Linked DNA regions of Homo sapiens: regions 2 and 3 are each linked to region 1. The links are contacts of gene promoters, found by promoter capture Hi-C in blood cells and fetal thymus (Javierre and others, 2016). All regions are on one chromosome and are shown on one strand. The core of a region is centred on a gene start or on the middle of the fragment in contact, and the rest is flanking DNA. Distances in the headings are between cores, read along the strand shown. Region 1 holds the start of ETNK1 (ethanolamine kinase 1). Region 2 overlaps PYROXD1 (pyridine nucleotide-disulphide oxidoreductase domain 1). Region 3 holds the start of GYS2 (glycogen synthase 2).

Region 1 (4,938 bases), core at 810-3,309:
GGCTTACTTCACTGAGTTTCACCTAAAATGATAGTGCCTACCTAATATGGTTGTTCGGGCGACTAAGATAAAAAAAAAATAATTTAACTAACCCCACAGTAGCTATTATTACTATTCTACAGACAAATACATCAAAGGAAATTCCAGTCTTCAAAGCTTTAAACTTTAAAGTCACTGCTTAAAAGTAACTGATCTGCCAACACTAGAGTTTACCAGGAAGTAGCACTTTTTAATTAATAATGTTTTATGTATAAGTGACTGCCAGAAAACAAATCATCTTAATAAATTTTAGAGTCTTATATAATAAAATACAAACAAATTGATAAACTAAACAAGTACTGAATTTCAATTTGGAAGACACATTTCCTTTAAAGGAAATATATTTTTTAAATGACATAAAAATCACTTTGGATTCACTATTTCCTATATTCTCGGCTAACAAATACTCCCTTAAATTTCAAAATTTGTTGTCTAACAAGTTTCTTCTCCAAAACATACGGGTCCTTTAAAATAATCTGCTTAAAAACTCTTCTAGGTAATAAGAACTGAAACTAACACATGAAAACCCAAGTGTCAGGAACTGTTCTGGGCCCTAGGCACTGCTCATGTTTTATTCATCTTTGTGTGGGTGGCTGGCTAGTTTAGCGAAGAATTTAGCAAATAAATCAACAAATATTGGTGAATAAATTAGTCATCAAAACGAGGCAGATGATTTGGCTAATTCAAATGAATGTTCTTACATTATTGCTCAGATTTAGAACAAATCCCAAATATCCCAATCTTGAAAATTACTGTTTTTTTTTGTTTGCAAGGGAAAAGGAGAAAAAGAGATCTATTTTTGTATCTAGTTCCTGAAACTAAAGCTAAAAACAGATTAGTATTCAAAAAAAATCACGTAGTGGAAATCATAACTTCCAACTTATTAGAAAACTCCTAGAGTCTCAGGGATTTTTTTCCTCCCAATTTTTTCTCTATCAACACGGTGTCTCATGAAAAGGAAACAGTCACAAGCCACTGCTCCTTCTAGTATCAGGTATTAATTTCAGTAAGACGACTTTAATAATTCAGAAATATCGACTCAAACAAAACAATGTGTGTGGTGCTGCCTAAGAACCGACCTAGCGATGCATGGTCGTGGTCATTACTTTGGGAATTGAGTACGCTAGGGTTTGGGAAGACAAAACGCAGTGTGAGGCATCAATGAAAGCACATCGCAGGGGGAGGGGAGAGGAAGGAAAGATCAGAGAGGATTAATGACTGCATTACTGGTGGGAGGGGAGGAGGTAGACGAGGACCCCGTGCAAGGGGAGTGGAAAGGTTCATTTTGCAGTGACCGTGGACTGGGGAGTGGGAGGAGGGGCAACTATCAGCAGGAATCTCCCCCCGTGGATGGGTCCGTCACTTACGCAGCGGCTTCTAGAAAGAGAAAATGTGCCTCAGGTCAATCTCAAAGAGCAACTGCGACGGGAAGGGGGAGTGACCCTCCTAGGTGTGAGGGGAAATACAGGGTCACTTCCCAATAGACTTAAGGAGATGTTGCCCTAGGTCCTCCTCGGTCATCGTGGGACAGAGGCGATTGTGGTGAGGACCCCCAGAGCCGCGTGAGGGGCATAAGAGACCCAGAGCTGAGGTGTGGGCGTTACCTGCAGGGTCACCTCCTGGGGGTCCCAGTGAGGCCGCAGGTGTTGCAGGAGGCTCAGGGCCCCCTCCCGGCAGCGATGCTCCTCCTGATCCTGAACGGTGACGTTCAGCTTGGGCACCTCCGGGGAGCCGGGAGGGACGTGGATGTAATTGGCCATGGCCCAGGCGACGGCGGAGACTACCACCACGACGACGGCGACGGCGACCACGAGAACGGCGGGCGCCGACAGACTGGTGGATCCTTCCGTCCCGGGGCGCCCTCGCGGGAGGGCTGGGGGCGCTGGGACGGGCGGGCGAGCGGCAGGAGAACGTCTGGAGGCGGCACTGTTGCCGATCCGGGTCTGGACAGCAGCTGAACTGAGCCCGGCCCGCTCTCGGAGAAAATTCCTGTTGTCGGAGCTGGACCGCGGGCGGCCGCAGAGCATGCCGGGGCTGGCCTGACGCTGGCGTCACGCGCGGGGCGGGTCCTGCGCTGCGTCAGGGTGCCGAGGCGGGGTTTCTCGCCTCCGGTCACAATGGGACCTCTGTACCGCGCTGGGCTTGTTGGCCTGCGATTAGCACACACCCATCCCTGGGAACTGCTAGTCTGGAAAGCGGGGCTGCTTCTCCGGGATGAGCCCGAGCCCTGCCAAGCCCCTCAAGGCATTGAAGCTTTAGCTCACCTTATCCGAATGGTCATTGGGCATCTGGACTTGAGTTAACGACTGAATTTTTCTGGGAAGCAAGGGACACGTTCTAAAATAACCCCAGGATCACTCTCCGAACTTGGCCTGAGTCTAGGCAAGCAGTGTTACTCGGTCGCCTTGATCTTGGAGCTGCTGTGTACTGGGGACCTCATACTAGTTGGGTTAACTATATTCCCATTAGCAGTACGCGGGATCGCAGTACTCGGGACAAGCTGAGTTCAGGTATTTGGGTAAGACAACTGCAACACTTCAGAGGTTATTTGTGGAGTAAGATGTTCGACCATACAGTGAATAATTCGAAGCTAGGGAGAACAGATTAGAGTCTGGTATGAAGAAGAAAGGGAAGGAAAGGAATAGTTTTGAAGCTCAGCGCTAGAACGACTCGATGTCCATGCCAGGGTACCCCGAGTGGGCCTTGAAATCTTGCGTCTCAGTGCCTTACAGGGAATGGTAGAAACTGGAAAATCTACAAGTAAAGTATTGGGACCTCCTAATTTTCCTTTTAGATGGAGGAAAACGGGCTGGGATTCCCTGCAGCACTTAGCACACGGTGAATACGTTTGTTAGTAGTAAATAAAACCCTTAACTGGACTGAGTTTAATTAACATTCAAAATGTTTAATTACTTCACTAGCATTAAGTTTACATCCTGATTGTTCAGAAAGAACCTACTTACCTTTGTAATTAACAAAATAATTACTTCACCGATAACGGTAAACTTCCTAAACTAAAAAGAGGGGTGGAAATGGAGCTTTATAATACAGCAAAGAAGTTGATTTAACATTTTTCAAATTTAGTGGTTTTTTTGTTTGTTTTTTGTTTCTGTTTTTTTTTGTTTTGTTTTTGAGACGGAGCCTCACTCTGTCGCCCAGGCTGGAGTGCAATGGCGCGATCTTGGCCCACTGCAACCTCCGCCTCCCGGGTTTAAGGGATTCTCCTGCTTCAGCCTCTCGAGTAGCTGGGATTACCGGCGCGTGCCACCACGCCCAGCAAATTTTTGTATCTTTAGTAGAGATGGGTTTCACCATGTTGGCCAGGCTGGTCTCGAACTCCTGACCTCAGGTGATCCACCCACCTCGGCCTCGCAAAGTGCTGGGATTACAGGCGTGAGCCACCGCGCCCTGCCAGATTTAGGCATAATTTTCTACAAGAAACATTAGAGTGTGTGTTCCTTCCACTTTGGGGAGAAATCATAAATATACTACTACTTTCACATTTCAGATAGTATCTCTTGTATTTTTGTATAAATTGTATTTTTTATTAAGCAGTTGACATTTTAAGAATTTTAAAACTATGTAACTGTAAAACAATTTAATTGAAAATTATGTTGCAAACTGCACTAGTTTGTAATGGTAAATAAGAGTCCATTAACAAGTAGAAGAAAAGAAAAAAAAACTATTAGGTACCTGAGAACAAAAGTAACCGAAAATGTACAGGATCCATGGATAAAATTAATGGAGAAATGAACCATATTCATAAATGAGAAAAGATTAATGTAAAGGCCTCAATTTTCCCTGAACTAATCAGTACATATAATGCAATTCCAGTTAAAATCTCAAAAGGGTTTTTTTACTGAACTTGTTAAAATGACATTGAAATTCATATCAAAACTTAAGGTCCAAGAAAAGCGCTGTAATTGGGGAGAGGAGGATAGGGACAGGTAAGATCAGGGAATATATTGGGAGGACCAACCCTACCAGGATGTATTATATATTGGTTTAGGTATGGGCAAATAAACTACTAGAACATAATAAAGTCCCAGAACAAAACCTACACACATATGAGAACTTTGTATATAACAAAAGTAGCATTAAAAATTAGTGAGAAAGTCCAGACTGATCAATGAACCGTAGTGATACAATTGCTTTTTGTATGAGAAAAAAATTTTGATCCCTCCCTCTTATTATGCATAAAAATTAATTTGGGGAAGATTAGAAACCTAAATGTTAAAAGCAAAACTTTAAAAATGTGCAAGAAATATCAGTTCTTATCAACCTGATCTACTGATTCAATTCTAATCACCTCAAGTTATGTTGTGGATATCAGCAAACCAGTTCTAATGTTTACATGCAAAGCCACAAGAGCCAGAATAGCCAATACAATATTAAAGAAAAACAAAGTGAGAAAACAGACAGACTTGAAGACAGTATAGCTGGGTGCAGTGGCTCATGCCTGTAATCCCAGCACTTTGGGAAGCTGAGGCAGGAGGTTCGCTTGAGCCCAGGAGTTTAAGGCCAGCCTGGGCAACACAGTGAGACCTCATCTCTCCAAAAAAAAAATTAGCCAGGTGTGGTGGTGCACACCTGTAGTCACAGCTACTCCGAGGCTGAGACAGGAGGATTGCCTGAGCCCAAGAGATTGAGGCTGCAGTGAGCCATGATCAAGTTACTGCACTCAAGCTTGGGCAACAGAATTAGACCTTGCCTAAAAAAAGAAAAAAAAATAGTATATGTTCCAATAATCAAGACAGTGTAGTATTGAAGCCAAGGCGAGTGAATCACTTGGGGTCAGTAGTTTGAGACCAGCCTGGCCAACATGGTGAAACCCTGTTTCTACTAAAAATATAAAAATCAGCTGGGCGTGGTGGCAGGCACCTGTAATCCCAGCTACTC
Region 2 (4,938 bases), core at 641-3,140, 1.2 Mb after region 1:
CCAATGCTCTAAAGAAATCACACAAAGTAACGAAGGACTGCATGCATGCTTCTTACAGCATTTAGATTTCACAGCCCTTTAACAACTATTAAAAAATCAAAATATCTAACAAAATGAGGAAAAGCAAATCATCTCCTTATCCAATTAGGGTATTAAGTGTGTATTTCCAATCCATCTAATAACTTTTGTAAGTTTACTGCATGCATCTGAAGTGACCTTTGAGAAAAGATTAATTTAAAATAGGACAGGAGTATTCACTGTAGTCTGGGTATAGAAAGCTCTATCCCTGATCTGAGGATATAGGAAAAAACAAACTCAGTTTCTCCTACTATAGTCTCACAACACAGAATACTTCTGTGACCAAATGTGTGTGGGGTGTTTTCTACACACTAAGCAAGCAATTAATTCTGCACAGGACACCATCTGGCTGTCCTCTAATTCAATTCAGTTCTGATGTTATTATCTACCTGGAGATAGCATCAGGTCCCACATGTTGAGGGATCAATCTCACAAGACTGTCTTCCACTTCCAATACCAATTGCATGCCCCGGGTGTTTTACCAGTTGGTCTGACTAACCAACCATAAATCAAGGGGCTCCCACGAGCCCCTTTCTTAGGTTCAATTAATTTATTAGAATATCTCACAGAATTTGGGGAAACACTTTACTTACATTTACTGGTTTATTATCAAGGATGTCACGAAGAAACAGATGAAGAAATACATAAGGCAAAGCATATAAGAAGGGGCATGAAGCTTCTATGCCCTCTCCAGATAGACCACCCTCTAGCAACTTCCACATGTTCAGCTATCCAGAAGCTCTCCAAACCCAGTCCTTTTGGGTTTTCATGGAAACTGTGTTATGTAGGTGACTGATTAAATTACTGGCTGCTAGTGATTGGCTTAACCTTCAACCTCTTTCCCTTCCTGTAGGTTGGAAAGTCTAAACTCTAATCATGTCTTGGTCTTTCCTGTGACCAGTCCCCATTCTGAAGCCACCTAGGGGCTAACCAGTCAACTCGTTAGCATACAAAAGGACACATCACTTTGGAGATGCCAAAAATTTTAGGAGTTGTGTGCCAGAAAACTGCAGACACAACATTTTATTGTGCTTCACTACTGTTTTGCAGATAGTGTGTTTTTTACAAATTGAAGGTTTGTGACAAACCCACATCAAGCAAGTCTTATCAGTGCCATTTTTCCAATAGCATGTGCTCACTTTGTGTCTCTGTCACATTTTGGTAATTCTTGCAATATTTCAGTTTTCATCATTATTAGATCTTTTATGGTGATCTGTGATTAGTAATCTTTGATGTACTACTGTAATTGTCTTGGGGTGTCATGAACCACACCCATCTAACACAGTGAACTTAATCGATAAATGTTCTGTGTTCTGACTGCTCCATCAACCAGCTGTTGTCCTATGTCTCTCCCTCTCCTTGGGCCTCCTTATTCCCGGAGACACAAGAATATTGAAACCAGGGCAATCAGTTACTCTGTAGTGGCCTCTAAGTGTTCAAGTGAAAGTAAGGATCACACATCTCTCACTTTAAATCAAAAGGTAGCAATGATTATTAGGGTTATTGAGGAAGGCACATGGAAAGCCAGGCCTCTTGCCCTGAACAGATGGCCAAATTGTGAATGCAAAGGAAACATTCTTGAAGTAAATCTAAAGTGGTATTCCAATGAACACATGAATGATGAGAAAGCGAAACAGTCTTCTTGCTGACATGGAGAAAGTTTTAGTGGTGTGGAGAGAAGATCAAATCAGCCACAACATTCCCTTAGGCCAAAGCCTAACCCAGAGTAAGCCCCTAACTGTTTTCAATTCTGTAAAGGCTGAGAGAAGTGAGGAAGCTGCAGAAGAAAAGGCTGAAGCTAGTAGAGGTTGGTTCATGATGTTTAAGTAAAGAAGCCATCTCTACAACAAAAATATACAATTGATAACTGATGAATGTGGCTACACTAAACAGTAGATTTTCAGTGTACATGAAACAGCCTTCCAGTGGAAAAAGATGCTATCTAGGACCTTCACAACTATAGAGGAGAAGTCAATGCCTGGCTTCAAAGGACAGGCAGACTCTCCTGTTAGGGGATAATGTAACTGGTGACTTGAAGTTGAAGCCAATGCCTATTTACCACTGTGAAAGTTCTAGGGCCCTTAAGAACTATACTACATCTACCCTGCCTGTCCTCTGTAAATGGAACAACAAAGCCTGGATGACAGCATTATATGGTTTGGGCCTGGTTCTCCACCCAAATCTCATATCAAATTGTAATCCCCAATGTTGGAGGTACGGCCTGGTGGGAGGTGACTGGATCATGGGGACAGTTTCTAATAGTTTAGCACCATCCTTAGTGCTGTTTTCATGTTAGAGTTCTCATGAGATCTGGTTGTTTAAAGGTGTGTGGCACCAGCCCCCTTCTCTCTCTTCCTCTTGCTCTGGCCATGTAAGAAGTGCATAATTCCCCTTCCCCCGTGATTGAAAGTTTCCTGAGGCCTCCCCAGTCATGCTTCCTGTACAGCCCGTGGGACCATGAGCCAATTAAACCTCTTTTCTTTATAAATATTACCTACTCTCAGGTATTTCTTTATATACTGTGAGAATGGAGTAATACACAGCACATCTGTTTACATAGTTTACTGAATATTTGAAGCCCACCATTGAGACCTACTGCTCAGAAAAAAAAAAAAAAAGATTCATTTCAAAATACTACACTCATTGACAAGGCATTTGGTCACCCAAGAACTCAGACAGAGATGCACAAGGAGATGAATGTTGTTTTCATGCCTGCTAATACAATATCCATTCTGCAGCCCATGGATCCAGGAGTAATTCTTACTTTCAAGTCTTATTAAAGAAATGCATTTCATAAGGCTATAGCTGCCACAGATAGTGATGCATCTGATGGATCTGGGAAAAGTACATTGAAAACCTTCTGGAAAGAATTCACCATTCTAGATGTTATTAAGAACATTCATGATTCAAGGGAGTAAGTCAAAATATCAACATTAACAAAAGCTTGAAAGAAGTTTACTCCAACCTTCATGGATGACTTTGAGGGATTCAAGATTTCAATGGAGAAAGGCAGATATGGTGGAAATAACAAAAGAACTGTAATTAGAAATGAATCCTGAAGATGAGACTACATTGCTGCAATCTCATGATAAAATTTGAAAAGATGAGTTGTTGTTTCTCATGGATGAGCAAAGAACGTAGTTATCTGAGATGGAGTTTACTTCTGGTGAGGATGCTGTGAGTATTGCTGAAATGATGAAGGATTTAAAATATTACATATACTTGGTAAAGCAGTAGCAGAGTTTGAGAGAATTGACTTTTGAAAGAACTTCTACTCTGGGCAAAATGCTATAAAACAGCTTCGCACGCTACAGAGAAGTCTTTCACGAGAGGAAGAGTCAATTGATGGGGCAAACTTGTTATTTTAAGAAATTGCCACAGCCACCCAAACCTTCAGCAAGCACCACCCTGATGAGTCATCAGCCACCAATACCGAGGCAAAACTTTCCACCAAAAAAAGATTATGATTTGCTGAAGGCTCAGATGATTGTTAGCATATTAAGCAATAAAGTATCTTTAAATTAACGTTATGTGCATTGTATTTTTAGACACAATGCTAATGCACATTTAATAGACTGCAGTATGTTATAAACATAACTTTTGCAGGCACTGGGAAACTGAAAAATTCGTGTGGCTCACTTTATTGTGGTATATCATTTCCTGTGATGGTCTGGGACTGAACCTGCAATACTCCAAGGTATGACTGTATATATATTACAGTATCACACCTCAAGAGTTAAAACGTAGGCTGAGATCCAGTCTTCGATGCTTTGACATTCAGTTTTCTTTGGTGGCCAAATGGACCAACTGCATTGGAGGTCTTTTCCTAACACTATGGATTTTAAGTAAAGTGACCTAACAGTTCGTTGACTATATATTTATTACCAGTCTTTAATAAATGGTTCAAGAATTTAAAATTACATTTAGACATGACCAATTAGTATATGAAAAGATACCTCTTTTGTTCCTTTAAGATTCAAGCCTTCATGCCAATCTGGTCCCAATGCACTTCCTACATTATCTGCTTTAGATTTGCTTCTAGCTTCCTTTTTCCTTCCTAAAGAGATGAAATTAAATAATATAAAAATTACCAGATAGAGAAATATGTTAGTGTTCTGAAGTTTTTTATTTAGGCAATGTAATGATTCATATATATACATACATTACAGCATGACTAACCTATGTTATCTATATTAATCATTTTAGTCATTAATATTTTTCTGATGTAGAGTTACAAAACAGATAATCTTTCAGTTGTGTGTTGAGTATAAACACACTCAACTTACGTTTTGGATGTTACACGGTTAACTGGAAGGGTAAGAAAATTAGCCTTCAAATTTTTATAATTTTATATATTTTTAGCACCTCCAAAATGTACAAAACTCTTGTTTAATTTTATAATCTAAAAGTTTTTCAAAGCTATCAAACTTAAAAAAATATGAAGTTTGTATTAGTTTTTCAACTCACTGCATTTTTTACAAAACTTCTTCAGGTATTGCCAAAATGTAGTATCTGTTTGCAAAGATGCAGATGGGCTGAGTTATTCAATTTATTTTAAATTTCTTGTTTTAATTATATATATATATATAAAATACATACATATATATAAAATAGAAAATCTGAAAACTTCATGTAAAGATATATAAATATCCATATTACTATTTCCAAAATTTATTTTATTAAATTTTCTTGTAGCCCTTTTCTATATGGTTTTAAAAAAGTTTTGTATGAGAATTAATGAGCTAGGTGCTACACTTACCTTCAGTTGTATATCTGGTTCTTTTATGTGCAATTTTAGCCTCTGATTTTTCAGCAATGAGCTTTGAAGTCAAGAATTCAGCTGCTCCTGCATCGAAGAAA
Region 3 (4,938 bases), core at 1,148-3,647, 1.0 Mb after region 1:
TGTGAAACAATCATGTGTATTTAATTCATTTATATGATTAAACTTTTGAAAACTGTGTTACTCATCCTATATACGGTATATATATATATATATATATATATATATATATATATGTATACGTTTATTGCAGAAAATGTGTAGAACACAAATAAAAATACCACACAAATATCAATCATAATTACAACCAGTTTAAGACAACTATTGTAAGAGTTTTTACATGTAGCCTCCCGTCTTTTGTTTATGTCTATTCCAGCCTTCTATTACATATACTTCATGAACAGAGGTATAGAGTACATTTTCACAAAATTAAATCAATCATACTACTTATTTTATTTTACATCCTACTTATTTTCATTTAGGATGTTATAAAATATACTCATTGATCTTAAGGTCATTTTTCTGAAAAAAATGTTTTCTCTAGGCATTTGATCAGGTAATATATACAGGTGGTACAACTTCAAAAAAATGAAAGAAAAGTAAAGCCTTCTTTTTACCCCTTTCCTTTTCAATGGTAACCTCTGCCATTAGGGAAAGCTTTTACTAAACCATCATATGTGTTATAAAAAAGGCTAAGATTACTAAAGTGGTTGGCATAGTACCAGGCACAATGTTAAGTGACTTATATAGATTATCTCATCCCCATTTTATCAAGAAAACAAAAACTTAGGTAAGAAATTGGCTCAAGTTTACACAGCAGATAAGTGATGCCACAAGTGCCTAACTCACAACTAAGCAGTTGATACCTGGAACAGATTGCAAATAAATAATTCAGCCTTATCATGTAAGCTGGAGAATATGGATCATTGTGCTCCTGTAGCCTGTGTGACACTGGATGAACCAATCTCAAGGCTCCTGGAACAGAAAACTGCAAACGTGAAACTCTATCACTGTCATCCCATTCTCACTCCTGTCAACATGTCCTTAGATTTGGTTTTACTGGAATGTGCACTTGCAGGACTCTCAGAGGTTATGTGAACATAAGCAAACCATTTTATAAAGGAGACAATCATTTTGATCATTTGGGATCATATGTTTTCTATTTTAGTACTTGATTTTTTTTATTAGCCATATAATCTTTTTCTCACAACGCAAACAAATGGATAACAAACTATGTACTTAAATGTACTTTTCTGGACAAAGATAAGAATCAACTGTGTCACAAAATCATAGATGACATTTATTTATTTTTGTTTTAATTAATTTTTTATTTTATTTTATTTTTTAAGAGAGTGGTTGTTCAGGTTGGCCTTAAACTCCTGGGCTCAAGTGATTCATCCCCCTCAGCCTCCTGAGTAGCTGGAACAACAGGTGTGTACTACCACATCAAGCTGACATATTTAATCTATTTGGCTTACATAGATTTATTAATGTAATATAATGAAATGTGGTTCTGCCCATCTTGAGTCATTAAAATAAGTGTAAGTCTATAAGACCAAGTATATAGAAAATAATTTAAAACCTAATAAAAGGTGCTAAAATAGTATTATCAAGTAACAAATTACAATTCTGATTGTAATTCTAACTTAAAGGATATTTTGTATGAGCTTCAGTTCTGCTGCTTTAGAGAATAATAATGTAAAAATATTGATTTTAGCTACATCTGTAAAGATGGCTCAAAATTAAGCTTGCTTGTGAATGCACCAACTCTCTGTAGGTACAATATAGGATATATGTGTATGGGTGTGTAAATAAATTGGAACATATATATTTACAAACATAGAAACACAAGGGAAAAGCAAACATATGCCATTTATCTGCAGTCTGATCCTGATGATTTTTCTTCCCATGTTTGAACATTTACATTGACTGAATTATTCTTTATCAATTTGATAATATTTGAAGGAAATGTACAAACATGACAAAGATTTATTTTTACTACCTCATTAAAATTATTGACTGATGATTATTGACCAGTCAAAATTATGTTTTTTTTCATGTTACACCCAAAGACATACTCAAATTTATGCTTTTTTATAGGGAAAGTTTTAAGAAAAGTAATTGAGAAAAGGGGGCTCAAGATCTCTGGCTATCACCAAAATTCAATTTGTAAGTGTAGAATAAAATAACTAGGAATATTTTTTAAAAGCTCTAGAAATAGGAATCAAAAGAAAGAAGAATATTTAGGAAATCCAAAGGGATTTAAAGCATAAAAATATGTCCCAATCAGTCTACATGTAATCTAAGGAGGCCTGCAAACTTAATGAGGGGAGTTGCCAATATTGTATCACTTTGGAAATGATGAAATAAGCATTGGTAACTGTATGAATCTAGGAGTCTGGTCAAAAGGACAAGGGCTAAAAGGCTGAACTTGGGTCATGCCCTGCCTATCCCAGGAAGTGCTTACCTATGTCCTGAATCAGAGGGTTTTTCTGTTGACAGCTCTGGATTGTTTGGGTAGATACTGACAGGGCAGATACCGTCCTCACAATACCTGCCCAGAAAGACGAGAAAGAGGAGGAAGAATTCCTCCTTCCACCAGGAATTCTGTGGGAAGCACATAAGATTTCATGCTACTAGTTTATTCCCAAGAGAAGCTACCAAAGCCTGGTAACTCTACCAACTCTAACTTTTGTGCCTGTAAGTTCTCTTCTCCTGGGATTACAACTAATTGAAACAGGAATTCAAAGGAGTCTCGGAGGACTGTAAGAAGAATGCTTCGAGGCCGATCCCTCTCTGTAACATCCCTGGGTGGGCTTCCCCAGTGGGAAGTCGAAGAACTTCCTGTGGAGGAGTTACTGCTCTTTGAAGTTGCTTGGGAAGTGACCAATAAAGGTTTGTACTGCTCCTGAAGGTGGATCAGTACACCTTCACTAGGTGACTGAGGAATGTAGAGTAAGATTTCACAGATAACTCTCTAGTGATAACCAATTGCTAGTGAGTGAGGAAAGCATTTAAACGGAATATATATTTAGGCTACATTTAACCTTGTCTATTACAACAGGCTATGAATACAGACTTGTGTATGTGTTGAAGAGGGAGAAAGTTGAAAATATTAGCCATTGCCATGGAATGTGCATTTAAATTAAAATTTAAAATCCATATTATGACAACATAGAAATAAAAAGTTAATATTTACATTTTTTGTTTTAAAATTTTTCTCAGCAAAATAGTATAATTAAACATTTTATTTTAGGAAGATGTATATGTGATTAGAACCAGTTGGAAACCTCAACTCTACATTCTGTTAGTAATTATATGAAATGCTTAAGAATGTTTCATATTCACAATTAGCTTGGAATTAATGTTTTAATTCAGGAGCTTCTCAAAAGGCAAAATACTGTGCTCCTTTCAGAATGAAAGTAATTTTTTTCTTCAATGCTATGCTTATGTAGGAATTATAAAATAAAGAAAATCAAATTGATAAAACAATTTGCGAGTGAGGTATAACCTCATCTGTGCTGGGTAAGAGAAGGCAAGGTAGAGAACCACAATGTAAATGATTTTGAAAATAAAGACATCTGTAAAATTATAAAACAATTCCTTGTGGGTTTATACTCTCTAGTTTAAAAGTGTCAAGACTATTGAAGGAACATTAGCAAAGAAAAAGTCATGGTTTTGAAGGCTGAGTTCCTCAAGATCTTGAAGAATCAAGCCAACTGATTGCTGGGTAAATGGCAGTGATGACTTGTGTGATTTAAACGATCTGAAATTATGTCATGTGTTGTGATATATAACACATTTATTTTTCATTTTGTGTTTACTATTTCATGTCTATTACAGTAATCTAAAGGATCTGAAATAATAACCAGAATGTGATATATTACTTCCTTCTTTTGGCTAATCAGAGCCAGCATAATCTCAAAATTAAATGCATTATATATGGCATGCATTCTGAAAAATCAGAATTCACCTTATACTAACTGTTCAAAGTTCTCGTGTGTATGCATTCATAAAATCAAAATTAAAAGTCAATTTTGCCTATGTAGAAGTGGACAGAATGCATATAAGAGAACAAAGCACGGTCTTATTCTCTGTAGTTTAGTGAGAAAGAATCTAGGAGGACAGAAACCTTATTACAGAGAAGTGAAGTATTTTATGTGTACCTGTTTCTGTTGTTTCTTTTTAAATTATTTTGTATTCTTTTCCTCAGAGATCTTTATCCTGAAATGAGCATGTGTTTTTAATGTCCTTTTTCTAGTCACAAATTTTTCCAGTCCAGTTTTTAAATATGCCCAAAGTTCCTGGGAACAGAACCATCTCTATCACATGTGAATCCCGGAGTATGCCTTGAAATAAAAGTTTTCTCTAGAGAGTGGGCAGGAGCTCAAGGACATAGCTTATTGGTGGATAAAACTGGAAGGGACTTGTTAGCACTGGGAATCAGTCCAGAAGATCTCTGCACAAGTTCCTGCACCTGAGCAGAGCCCCTTCTGCTTTCCTCTTTTCTCATCATTTAACAAACATTAATGGAGCACTGTTACCTGGGCACTGGGAACACGCCAGTGAAACTAAGTTATTTTATGGATCTTATAATCAGTAGCATGTGTGTTGATCTCAGGGTCTAGAACAGTGCCTGGTACATAGAAAATGCTCAATGGATTTTTTTTTGAAAAAATTTGTTTTTCAACCCCTAAGCTGCCTTTAATACTTATTTTCTATCATTTCCCTTTCAAGGGGAAGGGAAGTGTTTTTGTGGAGAGGTCCCCACAATGTGATTTACACAAGTTGATATCATCTTCAATGTATCTTTATTTTAATATTATCATAGCCTGGTATGGTTTGAGATTTTCATATAGATGGATAATTATTGTGTTTATTCCTAATAATACATTGCCACTATAGTTTCTTTAAATTTAATGATTTGAATTTTTACTTCCCTGCATTTCATAGTAGTGATATGAGGTATCTTAGAGATCATGAATCCCACTCCTCCAGTTCATAGAGCAAATTGATTCGTAGAGGTATTTAATGATCAAGCAAATGGCAGAGTTAGGACCA

What was found. The method cuts DNA at HindIII sites, captures the fragments that hold promoters and counts their contacts. A CHiCAGO score of 5 or more calls a contact.
Region 2: a contact is called between a fragment that was not itself captured here and the fragment with the promoter of ETNK1 in region 1, in 1 of 17 cell types (activated CD4 T cells). The highest score is 6.7, in activated CD4 T cells.
Region 3: a contact is called between the fragment with the promoter of GYS2 here and the fragment with the promoter of ETNK1 in region 1, in 3 of 17 cell types (activated CD4 T cells, total CD4 T cells and non-activated CD4 T cells). The highest score is 8.0, in activated CD4 T cells.

Annotation. Positions count from the first base shown.
Region 1 is chr12:22,622,292-22,627,229 of GRCh38, reverse strand. It overlaps ETNK1 (ethanolamine kinase 1), which reads right to left and starts at 2,059. Exons shown (of 8, transcript NM_018638.5): 1 at 1,644-2,059. The coding sequence starts at 1,799. ETNK1-DT (ETNK1 divergent transcript) reads left to right here and starts at 2,184. Exons shown (of 4, transcript NR_135030.1): 1 at 2,184-2,557. RefSeq lists enhancers at 936-1,625, 1,645-1,814, 2,345-2,414. The HindIII fragment of the contact is 2,136 bases long and covers 159-2,294 here.
Region 2 is chr12:21,455,192-21,460,129 of GRCh38, reverse strand. It overlaps PYROXD1 (pyridine nucleotide-disulphide oxidoreductase domain 1), which reads right to left. Exons shown (of 12, transcript NM_024854.5): 6 at 4,838-4,938; 7 at 4,035-4,135. Among named protein-coding and RNA genes, the nearest start is that of PYROXD1, 20 kb to the right of the region's middle. The HindIII fragment of the contact is 2,267 bases long and covers 757-3,023 here.
Region 3 is chr12:21,602,306-21,607,243 of GRCh38, reverse strand. GYS2 (glycogen synthase 2) reads left to right here and starts at 2,397. Exons shown (of 16, transcript NM_021957.4): 1 at 2,397-2,772. The coding sequence starts at 2,652. The HindIII fragment of the contact is 12,472 bases long and covers 1,627-4,938 here.